Linked DNA regions of Homo sapiens: region 1 is linked to region 2. The links are contacts of gene promoters, found by promoter capture Hi-C in blood cells and fetal thymus (Javierre and others, 2016). All regions are on one chromosome and are shown on one strand. The core of a region is centred on a gene start or on the middle of the fragment in contact, and the rest is flanking DNA. Distances in the headings are between cores, read along the strand shown. Region 1 holds the start of APLP2 (amyloid beta precursor like protein 2). Region 2 holds the start of THYN1 (thymocyte nuclear protein 1).

Region 1 (6,040 bases), core at 1,824-4,323, 4.2 Mb after region 2:
GTATATACAATATTACAGTAAGGTTTCCCTGGGGAATAAGATTTTAGGTCATTTTTCACTTCTTATTGGTTATCTGTACTTTTAAATTTCTTACAATGAATATGTACTACCTATAGAATTCTTCTTCTGTTATTTTAGAAAGAAAATCCAAAAGCCTCAAAATTTAGTAAGGGTAAACAGAATTAAACAATCTTGAAAGGGGCCAGGTGTGGAGGCTCACGCCTGTAATCCCAGCACTTTGGAAGGCCAAGGCAGGCAGATCACAAGGTCAGAAGTTTGGAACCAGCCTGGCCAATATGGTGAAACCCTGTCTCTACTAAAAATATAAAAATGAGCCAGGCATGGTGGTGGGCTCCTGTAGTCCCAGCTACTCTGGAGGCTGAGGCAGGAGAGTCGCTTGAACCTGAAAAACGGAGGTTGCAGTAAGCCGAGATCATGCCAGTGCACTCCAGCCTGGGCGACAGAGTGAGACTCCAACTCAAAAAAGAAAAACAAAACAACAACAACAACAACAAAACATGTTTTCAAATGCTATAAAGAACATGATTGGGTCAACAAACTAACTAGAAAACCGACAGCAGATAAGATCCAAGTATTGTATCAATGTTAAATTTCATTAGGTTGATGGCTGTACTAAGCCTATGTAAGACAATGTCTTTGGCTCTTAGAAAATATATACTGAAGTTCTCAGGGGTAAAGGGGATGGGGGACGACGTATGCAACTTACTCTCAAATAATTTGGCAAAAAATGCAGTAGTAAAGCAAATGTGACTAGAAGAAATGTTAACAATTGGTGAATCTGAGTAAAGGGTAAGAAAATTGTACAATTTTTGCATTTTTTATAAGATTAAAGTTATTTCTTTTTTTTATTCTTGTTTTCTTGAGATGGAGTCTCGCTCTGTTGCCCAGGCTGGAGTGCAGTGGTGTGATCTCGGCTCACTGTAACCTCCACCTCCCAGATTCTCCTGCCTCAGCCTCCTGAGTAGCTGGGATTACAGGCGCACGCCATCTCGCCCAGCTAATTTTTGTATTTTTAGTAGAGACGGAGTTTCACCATGTTGCTCAGGCTGGTCTCGAACTCCTGACCTCGTGATCCACCCACCTCGGCCTCCCAAAGTGCTAGGATTACAGGCGTGAGCCACCGCGCCTGGTGATTAAAGTTATTTCTAAGTAAAACATTTTTAATTGAAAAAGTTTAAAAATCAACACATTCAAAATTGTTCTAACAAAAATACTTAAGAGCATGTTGGGCCAACTTCCAGCAAGACTTTATGTGGAAAAATATAGGAACATATTAAAAAATTCTGCTAATAAAAACATATGCAGGACCAACTTTAAGCAAAATTTTAAATCAGCACCATCTAACAGAAATACAATGTGAGCCACATACATAGTATTAAATTTTCTAGGAACCATATTAGAGTGAAAAGAAACAAGTGAAATTAATTTTAATGTTTTATTTAGCCCATGTCTAAAGTATTGTTTCAATTTAGTCAATACAAAAATTGAGATTTTAATTCTTCTGTATTAAATCTTCAAAATCTGATGTGTATGTTACACTTCCAGTACATCTCAATTCAGAAGCTAAATTTTCATAGGAAATACTTGATCTACATTTAGATTTCATAAAATGTACAGTTTAAAAGTAAATTCGCATAACCAAATTATTTCAGTTAAAAGTTTTCCAACCACTGAATCAGATTTTAAATGTAAACTTAAATTAATTAAAATTAAATAAAATGAAAAATTCACTCCTCATTCACACTAGTCACCCTACAGACTCAATAACCACATGTGGCTTGTGGCTACACCCTGGGAAAGCCTGGCTTTAGATGGTAAAACAAATTCCCTCTACAAAAGGAGGAACTAATTGATAAAACTGAAGTTTATCGTATTTATCAAAAGATTTTTAAAACATAGTTATGATAAAAATAACGGGCCGGGCGCTGTGGCTCACGCCTGTAATCCCAGCACTTTGGGAGGCCGAGGCAGGTGGATCACCTGAGATCAGGTGTTCCAGACCAGCCTGGCCAACATGGTGAAACCCTGTCTCTACTAAAAATACAAAAATTAGCTGGGCGTGGTGGCAGGCGCCTGCAATCCCAGCTACTTGGGAGTCTGAGGCAGGAGAATCGCTTGAACTCGGAAGGCGGAAGTTGCAGTGAGCCCAGAGATCCCACCATTGCACTCCAGCCTGGGACAGAGCGAGACTCCGTATCAAAAAAAAAAAAAAAAAAAAGACGATATTCCTATCAGAAGCACACCAAGGTTTCTCTCCAAGGTACAATTACACATCTCCCATACCACCTGTCAGAAACACCAACACAAAGCCTTCTCTACTCTGCCTCAGTTGACATCCTTTAATTTGGGTTTGAGTTTCCAGAAAACTGGCAATCAAATGGCCTTCTTTCTTTCAAATGTGACAGAACAAACTCAAGTTCCGGTTCTCAGGAGCCTAGTCATCCACTGCACAGTATGCGGGGTTTCAGCACAATACTGTCTCAGTCCCAAATGGGAGCATGCACACAGGAGAACTTGTCTCGGATTTAAGAGAGGAAGTGACCCTGAGTCCAGAGGTGAGCTTTTTCTTTTTAAACAGGTGTAAGAGATTAATTCAGTCAACACCAAGCAACACTAAAGATTTGCCAATCAATAATTCTGTGCCAAGCAACTTGATCAGGGATTTGGCCAGAATCCCTTTCGCTAATCTCAATCAGGGCCTTCCCAAAGACATCCTGATTTAGGCCACTCTCATCTAAATTAAGCTTCGACAGTCCCTTGCCTGACAGCAAATAAACAAAATCAAATTATATTCATATGAATAAAATTCTGATAGCTTGACAAAAGGCCCCTTGAAAGATCATTTAGTAAGTGTGAGCAAAAATACAGCTCCAAAGAACAGGAGTTACCATAAAACCATTTTTCAGAAATGTTTAATTCCTACTTTCTTCAACCATACTTTTCAACTGAACAACGCTGTGGCTAACAATCAAATTTAACACACAACAATGAATTCTCATATTATTTTTTCCCGCTACACAAGTATTAACGAATTCTTTAAAACTGCTGAGTCTTCTACTGTGAATTCACTAATGCCTCAAATTAGTCATAGCAGTGGGAAGTGGAGTGCGAGTGTGAACGATGGTTTCTGACACCCGACCCACTAGTGAAGTCCCATCTTCCATACGAAAGCCTTTATTTTTTCTTCCCATCTCACTCACCTAGCTGTTTTCATGCGACATATCAGGGATCACAGATACAACTCTGACCATTGTGTGGACACACTGAAACAATCGCAATCCAAAATCCTCTGTAGATAAACGTTAACTATTTCTCTTTAAAGCTGAACTCCTTTCTTACCCTCACAGTCACAAAGCTTTAAACTGGATGAATACAAAGGTGTTAAGCCGTTCCATCAGAGAGGCTTTTTATTAGATTTATTTTTACCCGTGGAAATACTTGAACATTCTGTAGAAGTAAATATATTCTAAACCTGAGGTCTTTAAAAGAAAGCTCTCAATTAATGCCCAATCAAATCCAGTCTTCAGGTCTCTCTGAAATTAGCTAAGTATGCAGAAACCAGTTGTAATTTTTAAAAGAGCGAAGAGGGAGAAGAAATAAACGACACCAGAACTACACATTCCAGACCAGCAGTTCAAGCACCACTTCGAGAAGGGAAGTAAAGATCAAGCTCGCCGTCTCCCTCGGCCACAGCAGGGCTCCTCCAAGGCTGCCCGCTCCGGCCCGCACCGCGGACCCCGCCGCCCCCGCCCCCTCCCGCGGCCTCCCCAACCCCCGGCCCTGCCGCTTCGCCTTTCTCGCAGCGGGGATGCTCAGGGTGCGACCTCGAAGCACAACCACTGATGGAATTCTGACACCCGAAGAGGACGATTTTTCCAACAGTTTACACGCCTTCGCGGGCACCTTCCCTACTCACTGAAACCCTCACGAAAGCGGTCAACGCACCCAGAGCGGGTTTCCTCGGTCTACGGACGCAGGCAAACAGCGCCACTTAAAAAATGCGCGTCCGCGACCCGGCCCCAGGCGGCAGAGGGAGCAGCGGGCGGCCTGGCGCGGGAGCTCCCCCGGGGCTCGCAGCATCCCTGCCGCGCGCGAAGGCCGGGGCCGCGTCCACCTGGCAACAAAGGCGAAGCCCGCCGCTCGCAGGTGGGAGGCCCGGAGCCGAGGCCCCGGTGCCGCGCGAGGGAGCGTACGGGGTCCGCGCGGGGCCGCCCCTGGAGAAAGCCCAGCCGCGGACTCCGGCGGGAGAGGAGCGCCCTGGCATTGTCCCGGGGGAGGGCGGGGCGGGCGCCCGGGGGCACTGGGTCCCCGGAGGAGGTGGCGGCGCCGCGGGCGGGTTGGGGGCTGGGTCGGCCGAGGCGGACGGCCGCCCCCAGCAGCCCCGACGCCTTTCATTTGGCCTCTGCGGCGGCTGAGGCAGCCCGACCTCCAGCGCTAAGCACTGCGCCAAGCAGGGACGGGCGGGGGAGGGCGCGCCAGACCCGCCGCAGAGCCGGACCCCCGGCGCCGCACCGCCGGCCCGCCCTGCCGCGGACCCCGCTGCCCGCCCGCAGTCCGCGCTCCTCCGGCGGGCGAAGGAGACGACTCTCCGGCGTTCGCCCGGTCCCCACCTCGATGTAGCCGGCCAGCGCCAAGGCAGGCGCCGTGAGCCCCACCAGCAGCAGAAGCAGGAGCCTGCCCGTGGCTGCGGCGGCCGCGGTCCCGGTGGCCGCCATCCCTCGCCGGGTCGCTCTAGCGCGCGGCTCTCAAGCTCACACACTCGGACTCCTCGCTTAGCACACCGCGACCCAGAAGCATCTAAAGCCAGTTCGCCGCCGCCCCGGGGGTTTTACACCAACCGGAACTGACTTCATATTACCACGCCCTCCTTCTGCGGCTCCCAATGCCGGCCCGCAGAACCCCTCAAGACCCCGCCCCCTTGCGGTCCAGACCCAATCAGGAGATGGAAGAGCCTGCTCCTCCCGCCCGGTCCAACCGCGCGCCCCCCGCCCGGCCCCGCCCCCGGCCGCGGATGGCCCCGCCCCCGCTCCGGACCCTGTGGCCGCCAGGCGCGGGGGCGTGCGCGCGGCGGGTCTGGGGCCGCAACCCTGTGGGCGCGGGGCTGGCTCTGGCCTCCGCCCCCCGGCGCGGTTATCTGTCCCTGCTGCGCTGGTCCGTCAGCCTTCAGCCTCCCGATACGGGCACGCCCCGCTCCCCTGCCCCTGCTGGGCATTCTTCAGACTCCTTTGGGTACCGCCCTCTTTTTGATTCTGGAAATGGTTTTATTAAAAACAGGATGAATTAGGAGTCCGGGACGGTCTGCCAAGGGCCGTCCCCCGAGGCAGGGGGAGGACCGCAGGAGGCAGCCATCGTCCTCCCCCGAGCCCTACTCAGGGCGCGCCTCTCCCGCCCTGCTCCGCCCAGGCCTCTCCGCCGGGTCCTCGCCTCTGAGTCCGGCCGCGCTCCGCACCCTTGGCCTCCGGTCTTTAGGCCTCTTGCCGACCCTTCCTTCCCAGCAGTTGCCCAGGCAGGGATAGAGACCAGGGGTGCAAGAACCACGCCGGCCTCACAGCCCAGGCCCCCTTCCTCGTGTGTTTTAGGAAGAGATCACGCCGCTTCTTCGGTTGAGACGCACTAGCGGGAGACCTGCTACTCTGCCTTCCTGCTCCGCGGCATTGCCACTTCAGTAGAGAAAAACGTCCTGCTGCCCCATTTAGCAATTGGCACAGCCTCGCCACCGCCAGGGCTCCGCTGGCCTTGTTTCCTTTCAGTCGCCTGTGAGTTAGGTACTGCCTTCTGAGAGACCTGGACTAGTCCCTTCAGGTTCAACTAAATGCATAACACAACCCTACCCCCAGGACGCTGACAATAGAAAGGAAGAGACTGTCCGCGGAGTAGACGAGTGCGCCTGTAAGAACTCGGGATTTTCCAGCCTTATTCTGCACCACTCTCCCCTACATGCCCAGTTCCCTGTGGGTAAACTGGCTCTGCCCGATTCCTCCAAGACGACACCTTTCCATTTCACAGCCCTTCCTAACAC
Region 2 (6,200 bases), core at 2,894-5,393:
TCACCACGTTGGCCAGGCTGGTCTCAAACTCCTGACCTCGTGATCTGCCTGCCTTGGCCTCCCAAAGTGCTGGGATTACAGGCACGAGCCACTGCGCCCGGCCCCTAGAGTGTACTTTTAAGTCCAGTTCCTTGAGGACACTCAGCTTCAAAAGATCAATCTTTTTCCTACGAATCTGAACTCTCACAGTCAGCCCGAGTGAGCACTTCATTGTGCCTTCCAAGCTTGGGCACTCACTTGTGGATGCTTATATAGGCTGTGGTGCTGGTGCAGCCTGTAGCCAAGGCTTCAAAAATGACAGAGGTATCAAGACGTGACAGCCCAGACCCGCCCACATCTGTTTGTATGTAGACCCCTCCGAAGCCTAGCTGGGCTGCCTTCCGCATCACATCCACTGGGAACAGCTCCTATGTACAAAAGAGAGCAGGGTGATCAGCAGCTGATTCAGAGACGGCCTTCCTTTTAGAGGGCACAGTGAGGGATTAGGAGGCTTGCACATGCGACAGCGTATGAATTCTCTTAATATGCCTGTTTGTCATCTTACAGTGGTTATCAGTTAACATGGGTCCTGTAAAAACTTGTTCTGGCATTAAGAAGTTTCTTTTTATTATCTATAGAACTGCCTTAGTTTTATATCCAAATCTTTATTCAACTAACAAAAAAAAAGTTATGTACAAGATGATCAGGATGCCTTCTAGGAAAAATCATCCACTACCGGTATTCTCACTTGCAGTAAGAGTTGGTAAGTGGAGGAGACATTTAACAATTACATTATCAGGAGACAAAGATAAAGGTCTGCCTGAGACATCTGTTGTTAGAACGTCTAAGCACAAGAAAAACGCCTACCTTCTGGTCCCACTCTGCCATATTTGGAGCCATCTCTCGGGCAGCAAAGTCAAAGGCCACTTTTTGAAATTCTTTCTGCTCTTCATTAAGTCCCATGGAAGCTGTGGGCAGGATTGCATATACTGTTCTAGGACAGGGTCAGTGTTGCCAACAAGGTGTTGCCAACAAGAAGCACCACGAAGTTGTGAAAGTGGATCTACTGTAGTATTTCCCATACACGGTATAGCCTTTAACAGCTAGAGAATGGCAGCTTCTGTCGTTATTCCACTTGTCATATGGAGAAAGGACAGTTCTAGCACACATCCAGATCAACCTAGAACAGGATAGGGGACTTCCAGACATCTCTTATCCTAGCACTTAGTAAAATGCAGTTGTAGACCTAGAGGTTGAGGCCACAGTGCTAGAACTTTGGTCATTATAACTGACACTGAAGAGCACTATGGGCTGGGCGTGATGGTTCACGCCTATAATCCCAGCACTTCAGGAGGCCGAGGCGGGCAGATCACCTGAGGTCAGGAGCTCAAGACCAGCCTGACCAACATGGAAAAACCCCGCCTCTACTAAAAATACAAAAATTAGCTGGGTGTGGTGGCGCATGCCTGTAATCCCAGCTACTTTGGGAGGGTGAGACAGGAGAATCGCTTGAACCCAGGAGGCAGAGGTTGCAGTGAGCTGAGATTGTGCCATTGCACTCTAGCCTGGGTGACAGAGCAAGACTCTGTTTCAAAAGAAGAAAAAAAGAAAAAAGAGCACTATGGGAAGACTATGGCGCCACACTTGGCAATAATTTACTTCAGTGCCTACAAGCGATGCAGTCCTCACAGAAGAACACAAGGGCAGGTGCCAGAGTCTGTTCCTTGGGGCAAATCTGGGCATCAGTAATGGCTGGCTATGCGAGCCTGGAGAGGGCACTGCTTTCTGTGATCAGTACTCTCATTAAAATGGGAAAGTCAGAAATGAAGAGTTCTGAGGATTAACGATTAGGCTGCCTTGAGAAACTCAGAGCAGAAACCTATGTTGGGTATTACCCTCAGGAACAGAGTTAGGGATAAACAATTCATGGTTCTCTGACTGGGGTCAGGCCATTTATTCACACAATTTTGTACAAGGGTTGCTGTTACTGTAGACCATGGCTCAAAGATCATTTCCAAAAGAATGTTTATTGGGTGTTTACTAGGTAGCAGTGCTGGGGTTACAAAAATAAATATGATCCAGCCAGGCGCAGTGGCTCATGCCTGTAATCCCAGACTTTGGGGAGGCCAAGGCAGGTGGATCACTTGAGGTCAGGAGTTCAAGTCCAGCTTGTCCAACATGGTGAAACCCCGTCTCTACTAAAAATATAAAAATTAGCTGGGCATGGTGGCATGTGCTGTAATCCCAGCTACTTGGGAGGCTGAGGCACAAGAATTGCTTGAACCCGTGGGGCAGAGGTTGCGGTGAGTTGAGATCGCACCACTGTACTCCAGCCTGGGCAACAGAAAGAGACTCCATCTCAAAAAAATAAATAAATAAGATCCATTCACACAAAGGATGACTATTTCAATCCTAGCAAGAGCTCATTAAATGTTAACAAATCTTCTTCTTCTGTAAATGGCTACTTCCTAAAACAAATAGTTCAAGGAACCACAGGCTTAAGAAATAAATCTGAGTTGCATTCTAATGGAAGGAAATAGTTTTATGCAAATCATATGCATAAGTAAACACAAGTTCCCAGAAGGAAATACAGTATAAAAACAAAACAAATACCACCACTCATGAACTTTGCCAGTTACTAGCAGAGTTCAAGATGCCAATACATAGTTACTAGCAGAGCTCAAGATGCCAATACATATACACTAAAAAGGTAAAGCTAAATAGAAAAACACTCCAAATGAAATGGGAAAAGCCTTTGACTGCAGAGCCACTCAAGTGTAAGCAAGATGCAAACAATAACAAAACCCACCTCTAAATAATTCCTTATCTGCTTCGGTATCAACCAGGGTAATCTGGGTTATCAAATTCTAAGCGCTAGGCCAGGGCAGCACCTCTTGAATGAGTTTTAGGACATTCAGAAGAAAACAGTATTCTATGCCTTACTGTACTTTATAGATCTGATATCTAAGGGACTTATTCTGTTGTAAAGAAAACTGCCATTTATTTAAAATAAATTTAAAAATATTTCAGAAGAAAAAAGTGTTTATAAACATTCTTGGCAGAGAAGTCACAAACTGGCCGGGTCTCCACCACTCCTCGCTACATTCAAATTACTGTTCAGAGCCTAAAGACACTCAAGTTTGTCAGCTCTGGTAGAGTTTCCCACTGGCAATAATAATTATTTTTCCTGCATGAGTTTCAACACTAAAAGTGTCTTATAGCCAGAGGTGTTAAGATACCAAATCTTTGTGTGTGAGCAAATCTTGTATGACCTGGAGTTCTTGTGCAGTTGTCACCATCAGCACCCAGCCAGCTTCTTATATTCTCACTGCTTTTATGACCTACTGTTATGATTAAAAACCAACCAACCCAACAACAACCAAGCCCCAAGTTTCTTCACTTCTCTAAGCATCCGAGGGTGACCGGCCGCAGGAGGACCCGGGCCGGAGGGGAACCTGCGGGGGGATGACCGGCCGGAGGGGAACCTGCGGGGGGTGACCGGCCGGAGGAGGACCGGGGCGGGGGTGACCGGCCGGAGGAGGACCGGGGCGGGGGTGACCGGCCGGAGGAGGACCCGGGCAGGGGTGACGGGCCAGATGGGGACCCGGATGGTGGTGACCGACCGGAGGGGGCAGCCAGGCCGGGGGTGACCGGCCGGAGTAGGGAGCCAGGCCGGGGGGGTGACTGGCCGGAAGGGGAGCTGACGCCGGGGTGACTGGATGGAACGGGGAGACTGCAGCCCCTCGCGGACATATGTCCGCCGGGGTTCTGGACACCTGTCCTACTGCCCGCCAGGAGATCCTTACGGTCGATGCAGGAGGTCAAGCTCCGGTGGCCGGTCTGGACGAGGACCCGGAGACCGCCGGGCAGGCAGCCGAGGCGCGCCCCGAAACGCCGGCAGCCGCTCCACAGCATAGCCGCCGCAGCTCCGCGTTCAGCTAAGAGTCTGAACGCCTTCGACCTCCGTTGCGCTCGCACTGGCGGGACCTGCGACCCGGCAACGCCTGTCCCACTGCACCCTGGGGGTTGTAGTCCTCCCACGAGCCCTAACAACCCAGGTGCCAGGCGGGCTCCCAAGGGGACAGGACTACAATTCCCAGAAGTCCTCGGGGCCTCGGCGCCGCAGAGATGCACCGCCCACCAAGCGCCGCGGGGGTCGCGCTGCACAGCCTGCGGCGCAGCGGAGGCGGACCGCAGTCGAGTCTGCAGAGTGTTGGGTCTGTAGCCAGCAAATTACTTCATCATCTAGATTATCCATTCAGTTGATCCTAATTAGCAAGGATAACAAGGTAACACAAGGCTTACTTATATTCACCCAACAAAAGTGTCTCTGTGGAGCCACTTCCCAGTGAACTACATACTGAGATAGGGGTTCCTGGATGAGAAGGACCAAGGACAGAACCGAGAAGAGTTTAGGGGCAGGTTATGCGAGATGGAAATGGCGCAGATAACGGAGGGAAGGATTTGAGGGCTCAAACGTAGGCGTCTGTGTTTCGCAAAAGTTGGAGACGTTCTAGGCTGCCTCTCGTTGCCTCCATCTCGCTCTGCGCGGGTTTTGGAGGACATTAGCATTCTTTCTTGTATCTCCGTTGATTCCAGAATCGTCCGCACTAAAGTCCCCTGCAGCGTGACCATGTCGAGACCCCGGAAGAGGCTGGCTGGGACTTCTGGTTCAGGTGAGCTGCCCCTAGGCTGCACAAAGGCAGCCCAAGAAAAAACTTTTCTCGAAGAGCCTGTTTAGTACTCATTTTTCACTCCCTGCTTTTTGAGAACCCTTTGTGATATTTTTACTCCATTATCCTTAATCACTCTCCATCTTCTTTACTTGTCTCACCAAGCTCCTACCTACAGTTCCTTTTTCTTGTTTATTCAGGCAATGGTTGTTGTGCACAAAGACTCTTTGAGATACCAGGTGGCGTGCTAAAGAATATAAAGCGCCTGCTTGCGGGTGAACTGCAAACAGATGTGATGGGGTTCAGGAAAATGGATTGTTAAGTTTATGGAGGGAGGAATCACGGGGAAGGCCTCGAGAAGGATGTGGAATTTGAGCCCAGCCTTGAAGAATGGGAGACTTTCCACGGGCAAAGTTTAGTACTAAGAAAACGTGATGTCGTTTTTATAATCACAAAGATGGATGGCATTCTAAGTGGATGGAGGAGGAGGAACATTGGAAGGTACAGAAAGTACCTCTTTTGGGAATGACAGGGGTTCCAGATATACTACAGCACATTGCAGTTATTTATCAATATGTGGTGTTTGCAGTGGGCCTGTTAACTCCTAAGGGGCCATTAGGAAACTAGGTTAGGAAGGTATGCTGGGTTCAGAGCATTAGACAGCCATAAATGGTATTTAATGACAATTGATGTAGGGACTTTGACTAAATTCAGAGGCAGTATAGTCATTAAGTAGCTTCAGATAGACCTCAGTGACAGGTGCTGACCTCATATCTTGATTCCACCATTACTGGATGTGTGATCTGGAGCATGCTTCCCAGATGAAGAGTAGAACATCTCACAGGTTATGTAGATTAACCGAGTTAGGGTTAGGGTAACACATAGACCTTGGGCCCTGTCATATAGTAATTTAACAACTTAGCTACTGAATGCCTACTGTGTTCCAGGCACATTCTGATTGTCTTGGGATGAAATCGAATCATCACCATTTTTCTACAATGTCCTGAATGAACTGTTTCTTTCAACTTTTATTGGCACCTTCAAGGAGCAGAAAGGAGATGGGCCAGGAGCCACAGTGAGCAAGAAGGAAAGACGTATGAGATGAGAATAATAATGCTTTTATTATGCACTTATTGTAATGCCAGGCATTGTCTAGGCCCTTTGTATTACCTCATTTAAGCTTCAAAATAGTTGCAAGTAGGTGCTCAGTTTCCTCTTTCCTATGCAAAGGCATAGAAGAGAGAGTGAGGAAAGGAAAACATGTATTGACTACTGTCCGGACCTTTAATCCTGAACAACCCTGTAAGGTGTTCTTACCCTATTGAATAGATAATCCAGAAGATACCCTGTAAGGTAGGTATTCTTGTCTAATTTTTATAGATAAGGAAAGCTTCTTAACAGTAAGATTAAGTTCCTACAGCTGGTAATGGATCCATGATTTGAATCCAGGTCTGACTCCAAAGCTAAGCTTTTTCCATTATGAAACATTGCCTTTAACAAGCATGATCTTTTCTTTTTGCTTCTCCTATTGCAGACAAGGGACTATCA

The links. Contacts are between HindIII fragments. The CHiCAGO score rates a contact against its expected background, and 5 or more counts as called.
Region 1: a contact is called between a fragment that was not itself captured here and the fragment with the promoter of THYN1 in region 2, in 1 of 17 cell types (naive CD8 T cells). The highest score is 5.2, in naive CD8 T cells.

The regions. Positions count from the first base shown.
Region 1 is chr11:130,068,674-130,074,713 of GRCh38, reverse strand. It overlaps APLP2 (amyloid beta precursor like protein 2), which reads right to left and starts at 4,820. Exons shown (of 17, transcript NM_001142276.2): 1 at 4,632-4,820. The coding sequence starts at 4,736. It overlaps LOC107984432 (a long non-coding RNA gene), which reads left to right and starts at 5,065. Exons shown (of 2, transcript XR_001748444.2): 1 at 5,065-5,250; 2 at 5,601-6,040. RefSeq lists silencers at 3,932-4,391, 4,462-4,591, 4,982-5,211 and enhancers at 5,128-5,628, 5,629-6,040. The HindIII fragment of the contact is 611 bases long and covers 2,768-3,378 here.
Region 2 is chr11:134,251,295-134,257,494 of GRCh38, reverse strand. It overlaps THYN1 (thymocyte nuclear protein 1), which reads left to right and starts at 4,143. Exons shown (of 7, transcript NM_014174.3): 1 at 4,143-4,655; 2 at 6,187-6,200. The coding sequence starts at 4,613. ACAD8 (acyl-CoA dehydrogenase family member 8) reads right to left here and starts at 3,927. Exons shown (of 11, transcript NM_014384.3): 1 at 3,786-3,927; 2 at 847-947; 3 at 238-407. The coding sequence starts at 3,894. RefSeq lists an enhancer at 4,013-4,382. The HindIII fragment of the contact is 5,608 bases long and covers 227-5,834 here.